Regions from separate parts of the Homo sapiens genome. Here regions 1 and 3 are each linked to region 2. The links are contacts of gene promoters, found by promoter capture Hi-C in human tissues and cell types (Jung and others, 2019). All regions are on one chromosome and are shown on one strand. The core of a region is centred on a gene start or on the middle of the fragment in contact, and the rest is flanking DNA. Distances in the headings are between cores, read along the strand shown. Region 1 has its middle 230 kb from the start of LINC01958. Region 2 holds the start of GPD2 (glycerol-3-phosphate dehydrogenase 2). Region 3 has its middle 240 kb from the start of LINC01876.

The links. The method cuts DNA at HindIII sites, captures the fragments that hold promoters and counts their contacts. A contact is called where the count stands out against the background at its distance.
Region 1: a contact is called between a fragment that was not itself captured here and the fragment with the promoter of GPD2 in region 2, in 1 of the 25 tissues and cell types used here (lymphoblastoid cells).
Region 3: a fragment that was not itself captured here is called in contact with the fragment with the promoter of GPD2 in region 2 in 1 of the 25 tissues and cell types used here (mesendoderm cells).

What each region holds. Positions count from the first base shown.
Region 1 is chr2:156,900,064-156,902,763 of GRCh38, forward strand. No RefSeq gene overlaps it. Among named protein-coding and RNA genes, the nearest start is that of LINC01958, 230 kb to the left of the region's middle. The HindIII fragment of the contact is 4,197 bases long and covers 1-2,700 here.
Region 2 is chr2:156,434,942-156,437,943 of GRCh38, forward strand. It overlaps GPD2 (glycerol-3-phosphate dehydrogenase 2), which reads left to right and starts at 1,438. Exons shown (of 17, transcript NM_000408.5): 1 at 1,438-1,572. RefSeq lists silencers at 540-709, 1,150-1,559 and an enhancer at 950-999. The HindIII fragment of the contact is 7,799 bases long and covers 1-3,002 here.
Region 3 is chr2:156,012,201-156,014,900 of GRCh38, forward strand. No RefSeq gene overlaps it. Among named protein-coding and RNA genes, the nearest start is that of LINC01876, 240 kb to the right of the region's middle. The HindIII fragment of the contact is 3,136 bases long and covers 1-2,700 here.

The sequences.
Region 1 (2,700 bases), core at 60-2,559, 460 kb after region 2:
GTGAAAAATTTTTACATAGCCATAATAATGTAATTCTTTATATTGTTTTTCAACTTATAAATTCACGGCCAGAGTTAGGAAGACTGCTTTTACTTGTAGAAAAAATGTATATGTTAACAAAAATAATGAGGTAAAAATTCAAATGTAACAGACAGAAGGTAGGATATATGAAAGGTGGCAGAAGGTAGAGGAAGAGGTAGAAGAGCTAACATATTTAACAAAGTCAGGAACAAAGTGATATTATTGAAAATGACCATCTCAGATTTCAAACCAAGGCAATATAAGGTCATGTTTCAAAATACTCTCTTGTATTCAAGCAATATAGCAATTCTTGACAATATTGGTTCCATGATCTTTTCCCTCAAGCCCCTCTGAACAAGTCTGATCTCCATGAACTTCACAATGGTAAGAGTGATCTAATCATGAAGTTGCTACAATCACTTCTATACCAAACTGTGGCAGGCAGGATAATGTACCTCCCCAAAAAAGATGTCTGTTGTTTCAAAATGCTAAGCTTGTGATACTTTGTTACAGCAGCAATAGGGAACTAATTCACAAGCCAATTTACACAGCTCATCAAGAGAATGGATTTCTGCCATTTCTCTGTCCAAGGTCACTTTCAGGCCTTGTGGCGAAAATATACTAGAGAAAAGAAAAAATATATAGATTTGCAACTACATGATGTTTATTCATTCAGTATTTCTGTGTAGTATTTCAGCCCTAGTTGCACATTAGAAGCATCCGAGGTACTTTAAAAAATAACATGAGCCAGGCCCTACAGTAAAACAATTAAATCAGAATCTTTGGGAATGAGATTCTGGGCACCAATATTTTTTGAAATGTCACTAGGTGATTTTATTGTGAAGTCAGAGTTGAAGACCAGTGGTCTACATGACTCAGGTAAGTTACTGAGAGACACAAGAGGCAATACATGTACCCTTAAAACATGCAGGATTAGTATAAGATCTTATTAATAAGCCACATTCTCCCCCTTGTTCCTCTCATGCTCTTGCTAGATAATAAGTTTCTCCACCTAAATTGCTATATACTTTTATTTTCATGCAATTTCCTCGCTATAATTATTTTAAAAATGAGAATCATTTTGTCAAGACATCTATGAATACTGAATGGGAAATTCTGAATCCTTATCTCAACTTGATCAGCTCCTACTGAGATCTTAGTTCTCCTCACTTTTTATGTCAGAGGAAGGGAAAGTATCCTCTTAGTTCTGCTGCCTTCTGTTCTCTGGCTATCCATTAGGTCCTATTAATATGTACTGTCTTTTCTAAATTTATTAACTTAACTCATTTTCTACTAACTCAACAACATGCTGTTTCTCTCTCCATACAACTGATTCTTTCTCTGGAAGTCTTCTCTGATTAATTATGTACAGAAAAAGATTAAATTAGAAGGATATAACCATACTCAAAAGCAAAGAAAGCCTCATTGTGAAACTGAACCAGAAGAGAAATAAAAAACAGCAAGTGGGGCAAAGGCTGTGGCTGTCTGAGTACCACATCTGTCAGTTGAGGAATGTTCAAGGGTAAAAGGACTAGAGAAAAGGACATGCTTGAAATTGGGGAGTAAAATAAGGCATCTTCAACCCAGAAAGGAAGCTGTATAAAGCTGTAACAGGTCACTGACTGGGACCAATGCCTATATGAATTGAGCTGCATTTCTAAGAAAAGGAAGGACTCTACGTCGCATCCAAAGTCTGGGCCAAGCTACCCAGATACTCGAGTATCTGGAATTGAAAATATTCACAATTACCCTGCAGCCCAGGGGTAACATTCTTCCAGGACAGCTCATTATCTGGCCTGAAGGCCCCAGGCAGAAAGTGATGTGTAGTCAACTTAAAACTTCACACACGAAAAATGGTGGGGAGAGAAAGACAAGGAAAGGCAGAGACAGAGAGATTGTAGTAAACTCCCAACCAAGAAATGTCTGAAAATGATTATTAAAAATGAATGCTCAAAAGACAGCTGACAAAATAAAAATCAATTGCTGGGAGATGAATTCAATGTAGATAAAAATGAAAATTATAACGTTACCAAAAAAAGACTTCACAAACACATTGAGAATCTCAAAAAGATAAAATACTGAATTGTATCTACTAAAATAACCCCTAAGAAACTGTGAAACAAAAAGCAATCATAAATTAAAACAATTCTTTTAAAAAATTCAAAAACAATATTAGGTAGACATGAAAGAATAAATTAGAAATGCTGAAGTTTTCTTTTTAAGGAGAATTTACAAATCTCAAGAGAAAAAAGTAACATTTAGACAGAGATGAAGAGAGAATTCATGATTCAAGAGATAGCACCAAGGATTTAGTCCAGATTGCAACACAGAGAAACTGAGTTAAAAAAATACTAAAGAGCAGCTAAAAAAAACCATGTTTAGTTGTTTTTTTCTTCGCATTTTTTTAAATGCTAAAGTAATGTTTCTTTATAAATTTAGGAAATATGGAAAATTAAAAGGAAGAAAAAATTCACCCATAGTTCCATCATACAAATTCAATTTCTGAGAGTTTTATTTTTGTGTGTTTTATCTTACATTCTTCTTCATCTTTAATATTTCCATGTATGGGATTTTGGTTGGTTGCTTTTTAAATTTCTTTTTACACAATTGTAATCATGCTGTATACACACTTCTGGTTTTTAAAAACATTTCAGTAAGCTTTTCAACATCTTTAAGTCC
Region 2 (3,002 bases), core at 188-2,687:
AGATCCCACGTCCAGACTGACTCATTGGACTTGGGGATGGAAATCTGGCATTCCACCCCTCCCTGCCCCCTCCCCCCAATTTTAATGTGTCCAAGGGTGAGAATCATTGCTCCTCTGTGGACTATGGATGGTTCCCTGAAGTTACTGAGTTTGGGATTTAATAAATATATGCATTCCTCTGGGTCAACTACAGGAATTCTGCGGTATTTAAGGACATTAAATGAGTGACTTAATACTTTATTTAAAAAAATACCACTGCTTTTTGGTTCACACTAATTTTCTTCCTTCTTTTGGAAAGGCATTTCCGTCCATCTCCTGGATATTTTCCAATACCACGATAGAAAGGTTATTAGTACAGCACCCAGAGGTCTTCGGAGCAAAGCTGTTAAAGAAGTGGGGTCCATTTGAGCCCCAACTTTGCCTTCCTTAGGTCCCCTTGGGCTTGTCTAGCCCTAGGAGTTCCAACAAGTAAGCTGGGCATGCTCAGTGGGCAGGGTCGTTTTTTTTTTTTGGGTGGCGGGGGGTTGCAAGTGGGAAGCCTGCTGTTCAGCTGCCGGGGCTCTCCGCCTCCCCCCACCTGTATGAGGCTGGGTCTGGGGAACCTGTGCTCAGCATTCCACCCCCTGGAGCTTGGGCTTGGTCTTCCCTGCGGGTCCCTGCGCTGACATTCAGGCGGGGAGCCAGGAGGCCTGGCGCGCCTCCAGAGCCCGCCGGGGGAGCCGGGCGAGGGTTCTGGGCTCTGACGGCGGGGTCGCAGGGTCGCCCGCCTCCTGGACACGTCTGTAGGCCTAGGGAAGCCTGCCGGCCGGGAGGTACAGAGTAGGAGAAGCCAGATCCCAGGGCGGACAACGAGAAGTCGTCAGGTAAGCCAGCCCCGCCAGCGTGCCGGCGGACGAGTGTCTCCTCTCCCGCAGGCAGATGGCCAGGGCGGCCCGCATGGGCGAGGGCACAGGAAATCGGACACCGCCACCGTCTTCCCCAGCCTGGCCTAGCTCAGGCTTTCCAGTCCGCCAGCCCGCTGGCAAGGCGGGGCGGAGGTCTGGAGTCCGGCATCGCCGAGGCACAAAGCAGGAACTGCAGCCAGGGGCGAGGGCCCTTGCGTGTGGCGCTGCGCGACCCCACCCGGCGGCAGGACCCGCGTCCCCGTCTAGTCACGTTCATTGGGCCACGGAGACCACCTCGCTCGCCGCCCGCTGTTGGCTTTTCCCTCCCACACCCCCGCCAACCCCGGCCCCGGTTCCCGCCCCCACTTCCGCGTTTCCCCGCTGGGCCGGAGGAGCCTGGGCCCGAGGTATCCGGGCAGGAGGTGGCGGCCTCGCCGCCCTGGTCAGGCCTCCGGGAGGGAGCAGGCGCGGGAGCGGGAGGAGGAAGTCGGGAAGAGGGAAGGCGGGGGCGCGGCCCGCCCGGCGCTCGAGTTACACCCGCCCAGCCCGCCTCGAGTGACAGCCCCGCGCGCCTCGCTGGGAGCACCCGGGCCGAGGCTCTGATTCTGGGGGGAGGCCGACTCCACCCTGGCTGGAGGAACTGGGTGCTCCTGCCCGCTGGCCCCTCGCGCGTGAGGATCTATCTCAGGTGTGTGCTTCCTGGGAGACCCCTTCCCCCGCCTCTAGTATTCTAGGGGGGGAGTGGTCCCTTTCTGACCCGGGCGAGTGTTCTGGGACTCCAGTCTTGGCGGTAGGTGGTGGCGGGAAACGGGAAAGATTTAGAATTTCTTCCCACCAGCAGAAGATGGATTCGCTCTTCTCTAGGGTTTCGTTGTTTATGTTTTGGAGGCGGCATTTGTAAAATAGTAAAGTGGCAGGACTTTTGGGGCGAGGGTTGGTACCCCATTGAAAGTTCATGCAAACTTTTAGCTTGTAGATGCGGCTAGTCTGATAAGGATTGTTGCTCCCTTCCGAAGCAAGAGTGAGAACGAGTCTGGAGGAGGGCTGAGGCTTCTTTGAGAAACTCAGCTGCTGGCGTGTGACCGTCCTAGGAGGAAATGGAAGGTGCACACTGATAACTTAAAACAGCCTCCACTCCCTATGTAGTAACTTCTACCAGCAAAAATAGATTTGCAAAGAGTGCTTTGGCAGGAAGGTGTAGCTGGGTGAATGAAGTGCTGCTCTTAGCAGATGGTCTCTAGTCTGGCTTCCACCTTGTGCAGTGGAATATTCACTCCCAGAAGAGTTCCAGAGTAATTTACAAACACAAATTCTTGCAAAGTGTTAGTGACATGGGCAACCCAAATCACACACAACACATTATAAATATCATAGGAGGCAGCTATAGAAATAGCAGCTAGTCAACTTATACTTGTATAAATAGGTGAGGGAAGGAAGTTAGTAAGTGACAGGGAGTCTTTATTGCTAAAACAAAACTGTTAGTATTTTGCATGTGTTCCAAGTTTAAAGAGATGTGAAGTTTCTTTTTGGCGTGTGGACGGTGCTGGCAGCTGTCACACTGGGCCCAGGCACTTCTTCGTAGCTACTGACCACTCTAGTCCCAGTCCTACAGTTCTTGCTGGCTACCACATGACATCTGGATGCCATTGCCCAATGGAGACCGTGTGCAGTCTGGGGAACCTTGTGATGTGGATGTTGAAACCCCCCTCTGTTTCTCACAGGGGCGTTATGTCAAATTACAACACTCCCTTGACTTTTACAAATCAACTCGTGAAATAATACAGCAATATTTTAATGAATAAATGGGTAAATATGGGGTTTTGGGTTTGAGAACCAACAATGGATTCATTGCAACTGTCCATTCTCATAGCTTATAGAGTCACTTTATTTTATAAAGAAATTCTAAACAGCATTAGAGCTCTGCTTCCTTCTTTCTCCCTTGTGATTCATTCAAAGATGCAATGGCTTGGTTCAGGAATTGACAAAAGGGCCACAGTGTTACCAATTGTTAGTGAGTGTTACCACCCCCTTTAGTTTTTTTTGTAACTATTTAATCTCATTGTAGATATTTTAAAAGATTTGATGATTATTGTGCATAACTCATGTTGGCAAACTATT
Region 3 (2,700 bases), core at 50-2,549, 420 kb before region 2:
AATTTATTCTCAATTTCATCTCAAAGGCTAAAGGTTAATATAACATAAAAACTCTTCAAAATATTGTCTTCTTCCTGAGAATGACTTGTTGACCTTTAGGAGGTATTAGTTTTTCTGTGATACATATTTAGGAAATAAAGATGCTCATAACTAATAACCTTACTTTCCTCTTGTCAGTGAATCCAGAATTTCTAAGTTTGTTGTTGTTTAAGACAGTGAAGAGAAACAAGATAGGATTCTATCAGAGTTCCTGGCACAATTTGTCTACCTAACTTTTTCCCTAAGAGTGTTTTCTTTTTCCTCTCTCACCCTCTTAATAAGAATGTTAAGATCCTGAAGTTTTATAAAAGACAACGTGTCTTAGTATTGGCATCCTTGTATGGTGGAATATCTCTAGGCTGGAGAAATGTATTCTATTCAAATTCCAGCCCTCTTTTATTTTGGCATCAAAAGGCATTTGTGTTTTCTGCAGCAAAAATGAAAAATGATAGGACCACCTTTTTACTGTTTTCTCCTACTAGGCAGAGGGTTCACTCTTGAGGGCACACATATTTTTTTTTTTCCTTCCAATAATGCCATTTTATTTTTTAATAAACACGAAGTGAATGTTTTCTGAGAGGAGAAAGACATGGCCTCAGAGAATTCTAATACTGACTAGGTTGTTTATCTTCTAACCGAAAATGTATTTATTGTTTGCTGCACCTTCACTCAACTTGCAGTCTAAGTTTGAGAGGGGGAGAGAGACAGAGAGAGAGAGAATTGATTAAGGAAGAAGATAGGAAACTACAGGAAGGAAAGTGTTTTAGGTCATCGGTTCTTAACAGCCATCTTTTCTGCCATATAGAAATCATAAAGGAAATAATTTAAAATTGGCAAACAATGTCAATCTTTCTAAAAGCTTATTATGTTATAAAGAAAGTCAACCTATATATGAATAAATGGAGTTAAAGAAGAAAACTCAACCTTAGTTTTCTTCCTCTGTCTTTATCCTCTTTATCATCTCCTAACATTGGACTACTTTAAACTTTCTTGAAAATTCCTTCTCTTTGATTCTCTGACCTAAGTAAAGTTACCTGGGGATGACCTCTGTTTATCCTGCCTTCTTGGAAATGTAGCCATCTCCTAAAGTTTTGTCCTTAAAACTCTTCTCTTCTCTTTCTGCACTCTTCTATTCAAAAAACACAATCATCCCTGTTGGCTCAATTATCACACTTAAGGAAATTTACTCCTAGATCTGTCTCTTCGTTCCTGATTACAATTCCCTAGTTGCAATAACACACTCAACATTTGTGTGTTATTTTATATCTAGACTGTTTTCCAGTTTCTTAATTCGAAAAGTCAGATTCATATTTTTTATCCTTTTTTACCCTCAATTTTATAACCAGTTCCCAAATCTCAATGCTTTTTGCATTGCACGTTCCTCTTCCCATTCTTATTGCCACCACCCGGTTTGAACCTTTTTTACTCCCTACCTTGATTGCCAGGATCACCGGTCATGTCTTGCCCTTCCCCACTAGTATTTATCCATCCTACACACTGTGGTCAGCTTAGTTTACTGAAAGCATTACTGAGATCCACTCCACCTAAAGAAATCACAATCTCCACTTTAAGATCCATTTGAAATTCCACTTCCTCCATGGCATTTTTCCTCTGTATACACACTATAATATCTTTATAATATCTTCCTTCTTTTACATCCCGTAATATTGAGTGTGTTTTATGTCAGTTGCCTTACCCCTATAGCTATTTTTGTGACAAAGCAGATAGAAAAAGAGAAATTCAGAACTTTTCAAAAAACCAGTATCACAAAAATGAATCTATGTCTCTCAATGTTATATTTTGCATCCTTTGCATATGTAAACTTTCAGAGTATTAATTTGATAACTGTTTTTCAGCATTCTTTGAATTCTTCATTCACTTGAATGTTACACATTAAGACTGAACTCTCTTAATTATTCAAAGACTATGATATAAAGTAAGATTGACACCTTCTGGGAAATGGTAATCTGGTACAAAACAAATGTAACTAGAAAGAGTGAGAGACGACATGGAATGCAACCTGTATGTACTATTATAGTTTTGTGAACTTTGAATTGGATTTCTGAAATAAAGCAGCTCACTTTTGCATTATCTGGAACCTGTCCAAAATGAAACCTCAACGACCTGTGATTCCTCAAGGCCACACAAAAGCCCAGCTCTAATGATGAACAATAACCTCCATTCTTCCTGTTTCTTAGCCTACTGTCACTGATGGCTTTTTAAATGGCTGCAAAAGTGACAATTACCCAACTCTCAGAGAAAAAAAAAATGTACTGCCAAATCAAGGGTGTAGCTAGCTCATTTATACAGATTAAAAATATCAATATTCTTTACCACTATTTTTCATCTTGCCCTATAGATATAGAATCACCCAAAAGCTAGCGGCCCAAAAAAAATTACATCATTTTTTAGTATTTTCATGGTACAAAATTGTTCTCATATGGCTGGTAATCTGAAAGATGGCTTATATTTAAAAAGAACTTCAACCAGAAATTAGCACATTTGGAGTCCACGTGACCATGGTCACAATGTTGAACAGCTCTCTTGACCTTATTCCCCACTTTTTGTTTTCCCTAAGGAGAAAGAAGTATGTTAACTTAGTTAAGTATTCAAATTAAATATCTTAAGTGAAAAATACTCAGGTCTGACTGGAAGAAAGAG